2 separate regions of the Homo sapiens genome follow, and region 1 is linked to region 2. The links are contacts of gene promoters, found by promoter capture Hi-C in human tissues and cell types (Jung and others, 2019). All regions are on one chromosome and are shown on one strand. Each heading gives the region's core, a stretch centred on a gene start or on the middle of the fragment in contact. The rest is flanking DNA. Distances are from core to core; before and after follow the strand shown. Region 1 overlaps DLG4 (discs large MAGUK scaffold protein 4). Region 2 holds the start of SLC16A13 (solute carrier family 16 member 13).

What was found. The method cuts DNA at HindIII sites, captures the fragments that hold promoters and counts their contacts. A contact is called where the count stands out against the background at its distance.
Region 1: a fragment that was not itself captured here is called in contact with the fragment with the promoter of SLC16A13 in region 2 in 1 of the 25 tissues and cell types used here (liver).

What each region holds. Positions count from the first base shown.
Region 1 is chr17:7,184,687-7,191,049 of GRCh38, reverse strand. It overlaps DLG4 (discs large MAGUK scaffold protein 4), which reads left to right. Exons shown (of 20, transcript NM_001321075.3): 20 at 236-3,863. The coding sequence ends at 342. Among named protein-coding and RNA genes, the nearest start is that of ASGR1, 8.5 kb to the right of the region's middle. RefSeq lists a silencer at 4,229-4,398. The HindIII fragment of the contact is 8,875 bases long and covers 1-6,363 here.
Region 2 is chr17:7,032,038-7,038,143 of GRCh38, reverse strand. SLC16A13 (solute carrier family 16 member 13) reads right to left here and starts at 2,129. Exons shown (of 4, transcript NM_201566.3): 1 at 1,563-2,129; 2 at 1,274-1,417. The coding sequence starts at 1,761. RefSeq lists enhancers at 1,562-1,801, 2,532-2,581, 2,190-2,690. The HindIII fragment of the contact is 7,914 bases long and covers 1-6,106 here.

The DNA.
Region 1 (6,363 bases), core at 829-3,328, 150 kb before region 2:
TGCAGTGAGCCGAGATCGCACCACTGCACTCCAGCCTGGCGCTAAGAGCAAAACTCAATCTCAAAAAAAAAAAAAAAAAAAAAAAAGAGGTGCCCCTGTGGGCGGGTGCAGCCCCAGGACTTATGGCTTGGAGAGTTGGAAAGAGGTGCCCCTTCCTCTGGGCTGGTGCAACCCCCTTGGCCAGGTGTCCTCTGGCCCTTCCTTGGCCTCACTCCCTGCTCCACCCCACTCCCAGCCATCGTGGAGGGTGACAGCTTTGAGGAGATCTACCACAAGGTGAAGCGTGTCATCGAGGACCTCTCAGGCCCCTACATCTGGGTTCCAGCCCGAGAGAGACTCTGATTCCTGCCCTGGCTTGGCCTGGACTCGCCCTGCCTCCATCACCTGGGCCCTTGGTCTGGACTGAATTGCCCAAGCCCTTGGCTCCCCCCGGCCTCCCTCCCACCCCTTCTTATTTATTTCCTTTCTAACTGGATCCAGCCTGTTGGAGGGGGGACACTCCTCTGCATGTATCCCCGCACCCCAGAACTGGGCTCCTGAACGCCAGGAACCTGGGGTCTGGGGGGGAGCTGGGCTCCTTGTTCCGAGCCCTTGCTCCTTAGGATCCCCGCCCCCACCTGCCCCCAATGCACACACAGACCCACCGGGGGCCACCTGCCCTCCCCCATCCTCTCCCACACACATTCCAGAAGTCAGGGCCCCCTCGAGGAGCACCCGCTGCAGGGATGCAGGGCCACAGGCCTCCGCTCTCTCCTAAGGCAGGGTCTGGGGTCACCCCTGCCCTCATCGTAATTCCCCATGTTCCTTGATTTCTCATTTATTTTTTCCACTTTTTTTCTTCTCAAAGGTGGTTTTTTGGGGGGAGAAGCAGGGGACTCCGCAGCGGGCCCCTGCCTTCCACATGCCCCCACCATTTTTCTTTGCCGGTTTGCATGAGTGGAAGGTCTAAATGTGGCTTTTTTTTTTTTTTTTCCTGGGAATTTTTTTGGGGAAAAGGGAGGGATGGGTCTAGGGAGTGGGAAATGCGGGAGGGAGGGTGGGGGGCAGGGGTCGGGGGTCGGGTGTCCGGGAGCCAGGGAAGACTGGAAATGCTGCCGCCTTCTGCAATTTATTTATTTTTTTCTTTTGAGAGAGTGAAAGGAAGAGACAGATACTTGAAACTTGGTGTGTGGCCTGGTTATTTGGGACCTGGGTGTGGAGGGAGATGGGCGCAGCAGAGTCAGATCCTTCTTCACTCCAAGCCAGAGAGGTTAGTGGCCTGGAAAATGGGCCAGGGAGGTAACTGGCAAATCAAGGAACCCGAGTTGGTGAAGACTGAGCCTGGGAAGGTCTGGAGCTCTGTCCAAAGTCATGACAGGCCAGAAAGGGGAGGCTGGAACTTGTCTGGGGCCCTGCAGACTTAGTCCAGCTCTGATCCCTGCCGGGCTGTCTCAGTCCTGTTGGGAAGCACAACAGTCCTTAAAGGAAAATAGAGAGGAAACTTCGTTCATTCATGTTCATGGAGTTGTGGACAGAGCTAGGATCTGGAAATGATTTTTTTTGTTTTTTTGTTTTTTTTTTTGAGACAGAGTCTTGCTCTGTCGCACAGGCTGGAGTGCAGTGGCTCGATCTCGGCTCACTGTGATCTCTGCCACCCTGGTTCAAGTGATTCTCCTGCCTCAGCCCCCTGAGTAGCTGGGATTACAGATTACTGCCACCATGCCTGGCTAATTTTGTATTTTTAGTAGAGATGGGGTTTCACCATGTTGGTCAGGCTGGTCTTGAACTCCTGACCTTGTTATCCACCCGCCTCAGCCTCCCAAAGTGCTGGGATTACAGGCGTGAGCCACCGCGCCTGGCCTGGAAATGATCTTTACAGAGTTCTGCTGATAAGAACTGCTGTGTGAATATACGCTAGGTTTCTTTATGCGCCCCCCCCACCCTTTTTTTTTTTTTTTTGAGACAGAGTTTCGCTCTTTCGCTCAGGCTGGAGTGCTGTGGTGCGATCTTGGCTCACTGCAACCTCTGCCTGCTGGGTTCACACGGTTCTCCTGCCTCAGCCTCTCGAATAGCTGGGATTACAGGCGCCTGCCACCACTCCTGGCTAATTTTTGTATTTTTAGTAGAGATGGGGTTTTGCTTTGTTGGCCAGGCTGGTCTCGAACTCCTGACCTCAGGTGATCCGCCCAGCTTGGCCTCCCACAGTGTTAAGATTACAGGCATGAGCCACTACGCCCAGCCTTTATGTCCTATCTCTATGGGAAAGATCTGAGGCAGCTTTGTAAATAATGAGGGTAGGAAAATAAGAATCTAAATGCCAAAGATGAAAACTGGAGAAATGTATATGAACTGTGAGGGTAAATGTGATCTCTGAGCTTCCTGATAGCCATGGCAAAAAAGGAAATTGTCAATTACCTACTTCTTTATTATAAGGGAGAAATAATTTTAGTTCTTTTAGGGAGTCATATTTTCCTGGCCCTAAGTCCTAACTGAAGCTCCTGAGATCCTGCTATGTAGAATGGTGACTCTCAGCCTTCTGCCTTCTTCATGTGTTTGGCACAGATGAACCTTTGGGGGCACCTGCTGGGGTACTATTCCTTTCTCTGATTCTCAGGTGCTCCAGTGGGTAAGGCTGAGGCAGAGGGCCCTAAGAGTTATGGTGGTTAAATCCCAAACAGTGCAAAAGGGCATTTTTTGTAGCCACTCCTGACTAAAGTTGAGAGTTTCATGCAAAAGACCAACCCAGGGGTAGTGATTCTGTGGATGGCATGGCCGTCCAAGCCTAAAGTAGTCCAAGAATAGAGGCAGAGATTGCTGAAGGGGTGTCACTTCAACCAGTAGCCACGTATTGCCCTGCAGGATTTTCTATGCAGGACCGAGTCCATCAGGATCCTGGGGATAGGGACCAGGGGTCTGCATTTCTGGAAAGCTCCCGGGTGATTTTGATGTCTCACTGGGTGGAGAAGCACTGCTTCAGAGGATTTTTTTTTTTTTTTTTTTGAGGTCGAGTTTCACTTTTGTTGCCCAAGCTGGAGTGCAATGGCGCGATCTCGGCTCACTGCAACCTCCAACTCCAGGGTTCAAGTGATTCTCCTGCCTCAGCTTCCCAAGTAGCTGGGATTACAGATGCGTGCCATAACACACAGCTATTTTTTAATATTTTTAGTAGAAACGGGGTTTCACCATGTTAGCCAAGCTGGTCTCAAACTCTTGACCTCAGGTGATCTGCCCGCCTTGGCCTCCCAAAGTGCTGGGATTACAGGCGTGAGCCACTGCACCTGGCCCTGATGTTTTTCAAATAATCCTTCTCTTAGCTTGGTTCTGTGTAATAGCAGATGGCTTGAGGCTGTGATAACGTTCTCTATCGTGAGCTGAAGGGAGAAATCTAGGAGCTGAGGAAGGTGTGTGCAGGTAATGCGTCTGCGTGTTAAACTAGAAGGGGCAGAATCACATATTTGACCTGGATGGGGTAGAATCACATAATTTTGCATGTATTATTATTATTATTATTATTATTATTATTGGAGACAGAGTTTCGCTCTTGTTGCCCAGGCTGGAGTGCAGTGGTGCGATCTCTGCTCACTGCAACCTCTGCCTTCCGGATTCAAGCTATTCTCCTGCCTCAGCCTCCCGAGTAGCTGGGATTACAGGTGCATGCCACCACGCCCAGCTAATTTTTTGTATTTAGTAGAGATGGGGATTTCACCATATTGATCAGGCTGGTCTCGAACTCCTGACCTCGGGTGATCCACCCCCCCCCCCCTCGGCCTCCCAAAGTGCTAGGATTACAGGCATGAGCCACCGCGCCTGGCCTGCATGCATTATTTTGTAAATTATAATCAGTACACGTACCTGACAACAATTCAAATAAATATAGAAATACATACTGTTTTTAAAAAGTTTCCTTCCTGTTTCCCTCCAGGCATTATTCCTCAGGGGAAGCACGGTTGCCGCTGGGGCTGTATTCTTCCAAGGCCATGGCCTGGCCGCTTGAGAAGGCAATGTAATTAATGCATTGGAGCCCTGGGCTCCCAAACAACATAGGTTCAAATCCTGGTTCCTCTTCTCCCCACACTTTTTACTTCTTTCAGTAAATACTTCCTTGGATGTTCCTTGGAACCAGGCAGTGTTCTAGATGCTGGGAAGGCAACATCCCTGTCCTTAGGGAACTTTGGGTGCATCCAGTGGAGATGACAGACTATAGGGAGTAAGTGAACACAGAGTGTTTAGACAATGATGGGTGCTACTATGAAAGAGAGTGATGGCCCTTGCTGGTTTAGACCGGGCGGTCAGGGAGGCCCCTTGCAGCATCATTTGGGTGGAGGCCTGAAGGACAACAAAGACTGGGGTGGTGAGAGTGTGCCAAGTAGGGAGACGAACAGTCTGGAAGGAATAAATTTGAAAGGTTGGAGGACAGAAGGAGGCCACTGGAGTGGAGTAGGGTGGGGGACAGAGAGAAATAGGTGTGTCAGAGAAGTCAGAGAGGCGTGGCACACAGGACTTCCCGTGGATTTTTCAGAGTGGTGTAGAAGCTGCTGGAGGGCTGTGGAGGGAACCGTGAGCCAGTTACTCTGGGTGTGAAGGGGAATACACAGCAGGGGGCAATGGAGAGCCAGCTAGGCTGTTGCTGGCGTTAGGATGAGGGACGATGGTGGAGTCACTGTCACTCTGGGGAGAGCTTAACCTCTCTAAGCCTCAGTATACCTAGCTGTAAAATGGAAATAACTACCTACCTTGGTGGATACTTGGGAGGAATAAACTGGAAAGTACACGTAAAGCCCTCAGCACAGTGCCTGACGCATGGTAGAAAATGGTAGCAATTATTGTCATTGGCCTCTTGGTCTATTTTCAGATATGCATAAGCCCAAAAGTTAAAGCCTGGAATCATTTGGAGTTTTAACAAGTTTTACCCTCAAAAAGTAGGAAAGAGGCAGGCCTGGCATGGTGGCTCACGCCTGTAATCCCAGCACTTTGGGAGGCTGAGGTGGGCAGATCACGAGGTCAGGAGTTCAAGACCAGCCTGGCCAACATGGTGAAACCCTGTCTCTACTAAAAAAACAAACAAACAAAAAAAGCTGGGGGTGGTGGCGGGCGCCTGTAATCCCAGCTACTGGGGAGGCTGAGGCAGGAGAATCCCTTGAACCCGGGAGGCGGAGTTTACAGTCAGCTGAGATTGCGCCACTGCACTCCAGCTTGGGCGACAGGGCAAGACTCTGTCTCAAAAAAAAAGTAGGAAAGAGGTATAGAGAGGGTCCTGGGTCAGAGAATCCTGGCTGTCCCAAGGTTGAAAAGGTGTGCCTGGGGTGGACAGAGTGGCATTGAGGAGGAGAGAGCTGGGGGGAGAGAGACCCTACTGGAGACAGGGAGCTTGGGCCCCCATTCCTGCAGGCCGGCTTCTTGTCAACTGCAGAGATGGGATATTGAAGCCCTTGGGGTGGGTTGTGTCAGCTCAGATTTAAACTTGTGTGCAGAGGCCCGTCTGCTCCTTTCAGCACTGGTGGTCCCCCTCTTCCCTTGCCCTGGCGCACAGCCCTCCAGCCCGAAAGGTTGGAGGATAGCCTTCCTTTTCCTCAACCTCCCCTGCTTCATCTCAACCCAATTCCTGCTCAGCCTCTTCTAGATATGGGACCATAGGCCGCCCTCTTTGGGAAGTTCGTGAAGAGCCTCTGCTTTGCCCCTCCTGCCTGTTTGTTCAGGTGCCTCTTTTCAGATCTGCGGGTATTAGACTCCCTGCAGGCCTGGGAGGAGGTCTAGCTCCAGCCCTTGGGTGCACAGGCCCATCCCAAACATGAGGCTGGAAAGTGCTCTGAGAGGGTTGGCAAGGACTGAGGGAGCTCAGAATCCTTCTCCATAGCAGGGGAAGGGACTGTCTCAACTCAGATAACCCCCGGGCCTCCAGCTCTGTCCCAGCGAAGTTGCTATAACCACCCTCTGGGGTGTGGGGACAGACATCCTCTGCCATCCTGATCCCAATCTTCTCCCTTTTCTCCTCCTCCCAAACTGGAAGAGGCCTTGGAGGTCTAATGCAACTCATGGCTGTGTTGCTAGTGAGAATAATAAAAATAAAATCAGCTAGCACGTGCTGAGCACCTGGTGTGTGCCAGCACTGCGCTAAGTGCTTTTCACTCATTATCCCATTTAACCTTGATGAGCACTCTGAGCGGGGCATGAACCCATTTTCCAGATGAGGGCAAGGTGGAGCAGGTCTGGCTGATGGAGGGCCTCAGGCTGGTTTTGCAGCATGAGCATCTTCCTGGAGCCTCCGGCCTTCGGCAAGCTTCTTGCTCAGCAGCCACAAGCCCTCTTGCTTCCAGCCCCTTCTCCTCTGTTCACCAGCGGCTCAGGCCTCCCCCAATCTGAAAATACTCCAGTCTTCCTGACTTA
Region 2 (6,106 bases), core at 880-3,379:
AAGGAAGAAGTGGTGTTGAGAACTCTTAGGGAGCTCAAGGCACACAGTAATCCCCGCATTGCCCAGCAGCAGAATGTAGCACTTGCTTCGGAGTCCCACAGACCTGGGATACAATCTTGGCTTGGATACTTCATAGCTGTGTAACCTTGTGTGTTTTACTTAACACCCCCAGCCTCAACCTTCTCAACTGCAAAATGTAATAATACACTTTTTGGGATTGTGGAAGATTAGAGACAAAGTTTGTAAGGTAACTAGCACAGAACTTTGGAGTTAGACCTGGGCTCTACCATTTCTAGCTGTGTGACCTTCATTTGCCAAGTTGTATAAGCTTTAAAGCTTTTCCCCAGCTGTAAATCCAATAATGATATCGATTTCACAGTCACAGTACCTAGCACCTTTTTTTTTCTTTTTTTTTTTTGAGACGGAGTCTCGCTCTGTCGCCCAGGCTGGAGTGCAGTGGTGCAATCTCGGCTCACTGCAAGCTCTGCTTCCCGGGTTCACACCATTCTCCTGCCTCAGCCTCCCGAGTAGCTGGGACTACAGTCACCTGCCACCACGCCCAGCTAATTTTTTGTGTTTTTAGTAGAGACGTGATTTCACCGTGTTAGCCAGGATGGTCTTGATCTCCTGACCTCGTGATCCGCCCGCCTCGGCCTCCCAAAGTGCTGGGATTACAGGCGTGAGCCACCGTGCCTGGCCCCTAGCACCATTTTATAGTAATTCTTCCTTTTACACTCCAGTCCCATTAGCCCTGGGCTTCTGGGCTTGTATACTTGGTTTCATCTTTTTTTTTTTTTTTTTTGAGACAGAATCTTGCTCTGTCGCCCAGGCTGGAGTGCAGTGGTGCGATCTTGGCTCACTGCAACCTCCGCCTCCCGGGTTCAAGCGATTCTCCTGCCTCAGCCTCCCGAGTAACTGGGATTAGCGCCACCAGGCCCGGCTAATTTTTGTATTTTTGTAGAGACGGGGTTTCACCATGTTGGCCAGGCTGGTCTCAAACTCCTGACCTCGTGATCCACCCGCCTCGGCTTCCCAAAGTGCTGGGATTACAGGCGTGAGCCACCGTGCCCGGCCAGGTTTCATCATCCTTGAATTTCCTAATTCCTCACCATGTTTGTCGCTTTAGTCATTCCTATTAAGAATTCCCTTCTGGGTACAGGTGCTAGCTAAACTTTCCCTCAGCTTCTCCCCGAACCCTTTGGAAGGAGCAGGAAGGAGGTGAACATCCAACGATCTAAGCATTTGACTCTCCTGCCCTTGTGCAGGCTCTCACCTGACAGCAACCCAATACTCAGGTATAGGTGGGTCAAGGAAGTAGCAAAAGAGGCGAGCAGCATCCCCAGCGCAGCCAAGATGCCTCCAGTCATCACCACGGGCCTGGGCCCGAACTTCGTGCTCAGGGCACTGCCTACCGGGCCTGAGGAAGTGGAAGGGGCGCTGCGAGAAGATCTCAGGGGTCTCCCCCCCAGCATCTCCCGCCCCTCGCCCTTCCACTTCCCAGTCGCCGCATTCCCTCTCCCTTCCGAGGGTCGCAGTCCGCCAGATCCAGGCGCCGCACTCACTCCCAAACTGCTGCACCGCGATTCCTATGGAGGCGATCCAGGAGACGCGCGCTGCCTGCTCCTCAAACGCCGCCACAAACTCCACGAAGAAGACCCCAAAGGAGCGGAGCACCCCAAACACAAGCGCCGACTGGAAGAACGCTGAGAGCACCACCACCCATCCCCAGCCCCCGTCGGGGGGCTCTGTCCTGCGCGCCATCTAAGCGGTAACAGGGCTGCTGCCACCCAGAGCCTCTGCAGGAGCCGGGTTCTGGACGCCGCACCTCTGCACACCCACCCCCGCTGCCGGGTGGCTCGGGGCCGAGAGGGGTTGGAGAGGCAGGTAGAGAGGAAGGGCCCGACGAGGCGGCGAGAGGCCCCTGCACCTTTTCCCAAGGCGGGGCGATATAGGACTGAAGACCTGGCCCGCGCTGGCCGGGCCAGAGTCTCCCGGGGGCGTGGTTCCGCGAGCTCGGAGCTGAGCTAGTTCAAGCCGGGGCCGGATCGGTCCCGGTTCGGTGTTCGGCTGGGAGCCAGAGGGTGGAACTGAGTTTGGGCCCCACCCCTGGAGCGCGCCAGTTTCCGTGTAGATGATCTATTTTATCACTGGGGTGTCCGGGCCGGGCCACCCTGGAGCTCGCCAATGAGGACGCGGGGCTCCCGGGCAGGGGCGGAACGAGAAGGGCAGGGCGGGATTTAGGCATTGTTGGGGACCAGCAGTGAATGGGCGCATGCGTAAGGAGGGGCGTTAGGAGGCTGACTAGGTAGGGCCCCACGTGACGCGGGGACTGCCAGGAAGCTTCCGTCTCCTCTTCACCTAGCGGGCCAAGTCATCCCCGTTTCAGCACCCAGAGCCACACGGAAGGGTTAGTGGTGGGTAAACTGGGTCTGGAGAGGAGAGGACTCTCTTGCTTTAATGAGGGGTCCAGGAATTGCAAGGCCCTGTTGGGGGTAGGGGAGGGGTTAGGAGATGAGACTCAAACGAAGTGTTTGGCGCAGCGCCTGAAGCCACTAACACGCAGCCCTAGGCACGCAGACCTAGAAGCCTGGATCCCTGAGAAGTTCAACGGCTAAGGGAAGAGAGAAGGGGAATGAGTTGGACTCCTGGCGTTCATTTCTGTAGTGGGAACTCGTTCCTGTCACTTCTGTTCCCACTAACAGGAAACCTACAGGTCACAGAGACCAAAAATAACTGAGGAGAGGAAGGGCGGCTGTAAGCTCACACAGGGCCCCACCAACACCACCTACCTCTTCCTCACTGGGGCTGGAACCTTTTCCTCTGCCCTCTAGTAACAACCACTTCCTAACCACCTTTTTTGATCTGATGGTGGGGTAGACTAAAGAGACAAACTATGACCCTGGCCACTGGAGCAGTCAGCCCCCTCTTACCCAAGTAGTCCTCAGGCCCCTAGCAAACACTCCCCAGTCCTTCCCAGTCTCCATAACACCAATGGCTTGGATTTCCTGTTCCTTCATTATAAGCCATACTTCCCAGGACCCTGACCTTGAAACCGTGGACTCAATGTTCACTCCCAGATTACTGGGGAAAGCAGCAAACAAGAAGTGGAGGCAGGGAGGGAGGTGTGTAGTCTTAAAAGACATATTGAGCCTTAAATAATTTTATATGTGGGAAATAAAAGTAATCATCAATAATACACATATATACTTTCTAAGAGTCAAAATGTCGGCTGGTGGGGAATATGCCAAAGATACAGAAATTGCTGTGGCTGTATTACATAGTGATTAAGAACTCGGGTCTTTAGAATCAGATCACAGTTCCAGTCTTTTATTTATTTATTTATTTATTTATTTATTTATTTATTTATTTATTTTGAGATGGAGTCTTGCTCTGTGGCCCAGGCTGGAGTGCAGTGGCATGATCTTGGCTCACTGCAACCTCCACCTCCCGGGTTCAAGTGATTCTCCTGCCTCAGTCTCCTGAGTTTCTGGGATTACAGGCTCCCACCACAACGCCCAGTTAATTTTGGTATTTTTAGTAGAGACGAGGTCTCACCATGTTGGCCACGCTGGTCTCGAACTCCTGACCTCAAGTGATCCACCAGCCTTGGCCTCCCAAAGTTCTGGGATTACAGGCGTGAGCCACCGTGCCTGGCCCAGTTCCAATCTTGACTTTATTACTTAACTCGATCAAGATGCTGAATCTCTCAGTTGGTTTCCCCATCTGTAAACTGGGGATAATAGTACCTACTATTAAGCGTTGCCCAAGGGGTTCAGTTAGAAAATCCATGCACTAAAAATGCTTAGTTTATGTGCTGACATGCAGCAGGAGCCAAGTAATATTAGCTTAGCTGGTCTTATTGGTGTTATTTTCAACAGGGGATAAGCTGCTGTAGTGGGAAGTGAAGGAAGGTTTTAGTTTAGTGTTTTTTTTTTTGTTTTTTGTTTTTTGTTTTGAGATGGAGTTTTGCTCTTGTCTCCCAGGCTGGAGTGCAATGGCATGATCTCGGCTCACTGCGACCTCCACCTCCTGGGTTCAAGTGATTCTCCTGCCTCAGTCTCCCGAATAGGTGGGACTACAGGTGTTTGCCACTATGCCTGGCTAAATTTTTTGTATTTTTAGTAGAGACAGGGTTTCACCATTTTGGTCAGGCTGGTCTCGAACTCCTGACCTCAGGTGATCTGCCTGCCTGGGCCTCCCAAAGTGCTGGGATTATAGGCGTGAGCCACCATGCCCTGCCTAGTTTTTGTTTTTTGATTAAAAAAAAAAAAAATCTAATCCAGGTCATGGGTTTAAAAAGATTGAGAAACGACCACTGCGATGGTTTGAATGTTACCTCCAAAAACTCATATTGAAACTTAATCCCCAACTTGGCGGTACTGAGAGGTGGAAACTTTAAAAGGTGATTGGATGGGATTAATGGATTAATTAATCCCCATGAATTAGCCCACCATAATGGATTAATAGGTTAACAGATTAACCCCATCATAAAGGACTAAAAGGTTAATAGATTAATGGGTTATCATGGGAGGGGAATTGTCGGCTTTTTCAGACAGATCCAAGCTAGAACATTAGCATGCTTAGCCCCCTTTGCCATGTGACACCCTGTGCCACAGAGAGTCCATATCAGCAAGAAAACCCTCACTAGAGGGTGAGGCCCCTGGACCTTGGATTTCTCAGCCTCCATACTATAAGAAATAAATTCATTTTCTTTATAAATTACCCAGTTTCAGATAATCTGTTGTAAGCAACAGAAAATGAACTGAATGAGACAGAAAACTGGTACCAAGAAGTGGGGTGTTGCTGATAATGAATAACGGAAAATGATGAAGTGGCTTTGGAAGTGGGTGATGGGCAGAGGCTGGAAGCATTTGGAGGAGTAGGCTAGAAAAAGCCTAGATTCTGGAGAGGTCTTAGAAGACAAGAAGACTAAGAAAAGTTTGGAATTCTTTAGAGATTGGTTAAGTGTTTATGACTAGAATGTTGATAGAAATATGGAAGCAGCTGGGCGGGGTGGCTCACGCCTGTAATCCCAGCACTTTGGAAAGCTGAGGTGGGCGGATCATGAGGTCAGGAGATTGAGACCATCCTGGCCAACATGGTGAAACCTGTCTCTACTAAAAATACAAAAATTAGCTGGGCATGGTAGCACTCGCCTGTAATCCCAGCTACTCGGGAGGGTGAGGCAGGAGAATCGCTTGAACCAGGGAGTCGGAGGTTGCAGTGAGCCGAGATCGTGCCACTGCACTCCAGCCTGGGCGAAAGAGCGAGACTCCATCTCAAAAAAAAAAAAAAAAAAAAGAAATATGGAAGCAAAAGCCATTCTGATGAGCTTTCAGATGGAACTGAGGAGCAAGGTATTGAAAACTGGAGTAAAGGCCATCCTTGTTACGAACTGGCAAAGAGCTTGGCTAAACTGTATCCATGCCCAAGGGCTTTGTGGAAGGCTGAAGTTGAGAGTGATGAACTAGGGTATCTGGCAGGCAGAAGACATTTCTAAGCAGCAAAATGCTGAGGCTGCTGTGTGGTTGCTTCTAACTGCTTAAGATGATCTCACAGAGAAAAGAAACAGAGTGGAAACATTTGGAAAATTCTCAGCCTGGCCATGTGGTAGAGAATGAAAGAGCATTTTCAGGAGATGAATCCAAGGGCGTGGCCAAGCCACTTCTTGCTAAAAAGATTAACATGGCTAAAAAGGAGCCAGGTGCTCTTCCTCAAGAAAATGGAAGAAAGTCCCTGAACTCATTTCAGAGGTCTTTGAGGCTGCCCCTCCCATCACAGGCCCAGAGGCCTTGGAGGACAGAGGGTTTCAGGGTACAGGCCCTGGGTGCTCTCCATGGGCTCACCGCCCAGGGCAACCTCAGGACTCTGCACCCCACACCCCAGTGTAGCACTCTGTGGCCACCCCAGCCTGGTGGTGGCTTAAGTGGCCCCAGGTGTTCCTTGTGTGTGTGTGTGTGTGTGTGTGTGTGTGTGTGTGTGTGTTGCTTGTATTGAAGCTCCAGAAGGTGCAAATCATAGACCTTTGCTGCATCCTTGTGGTGCTAATTCTGCAGTCTTGCAGAAAGTAAGAGCTGTGAAGGCTTGGCAGTCTCCACATGGATTT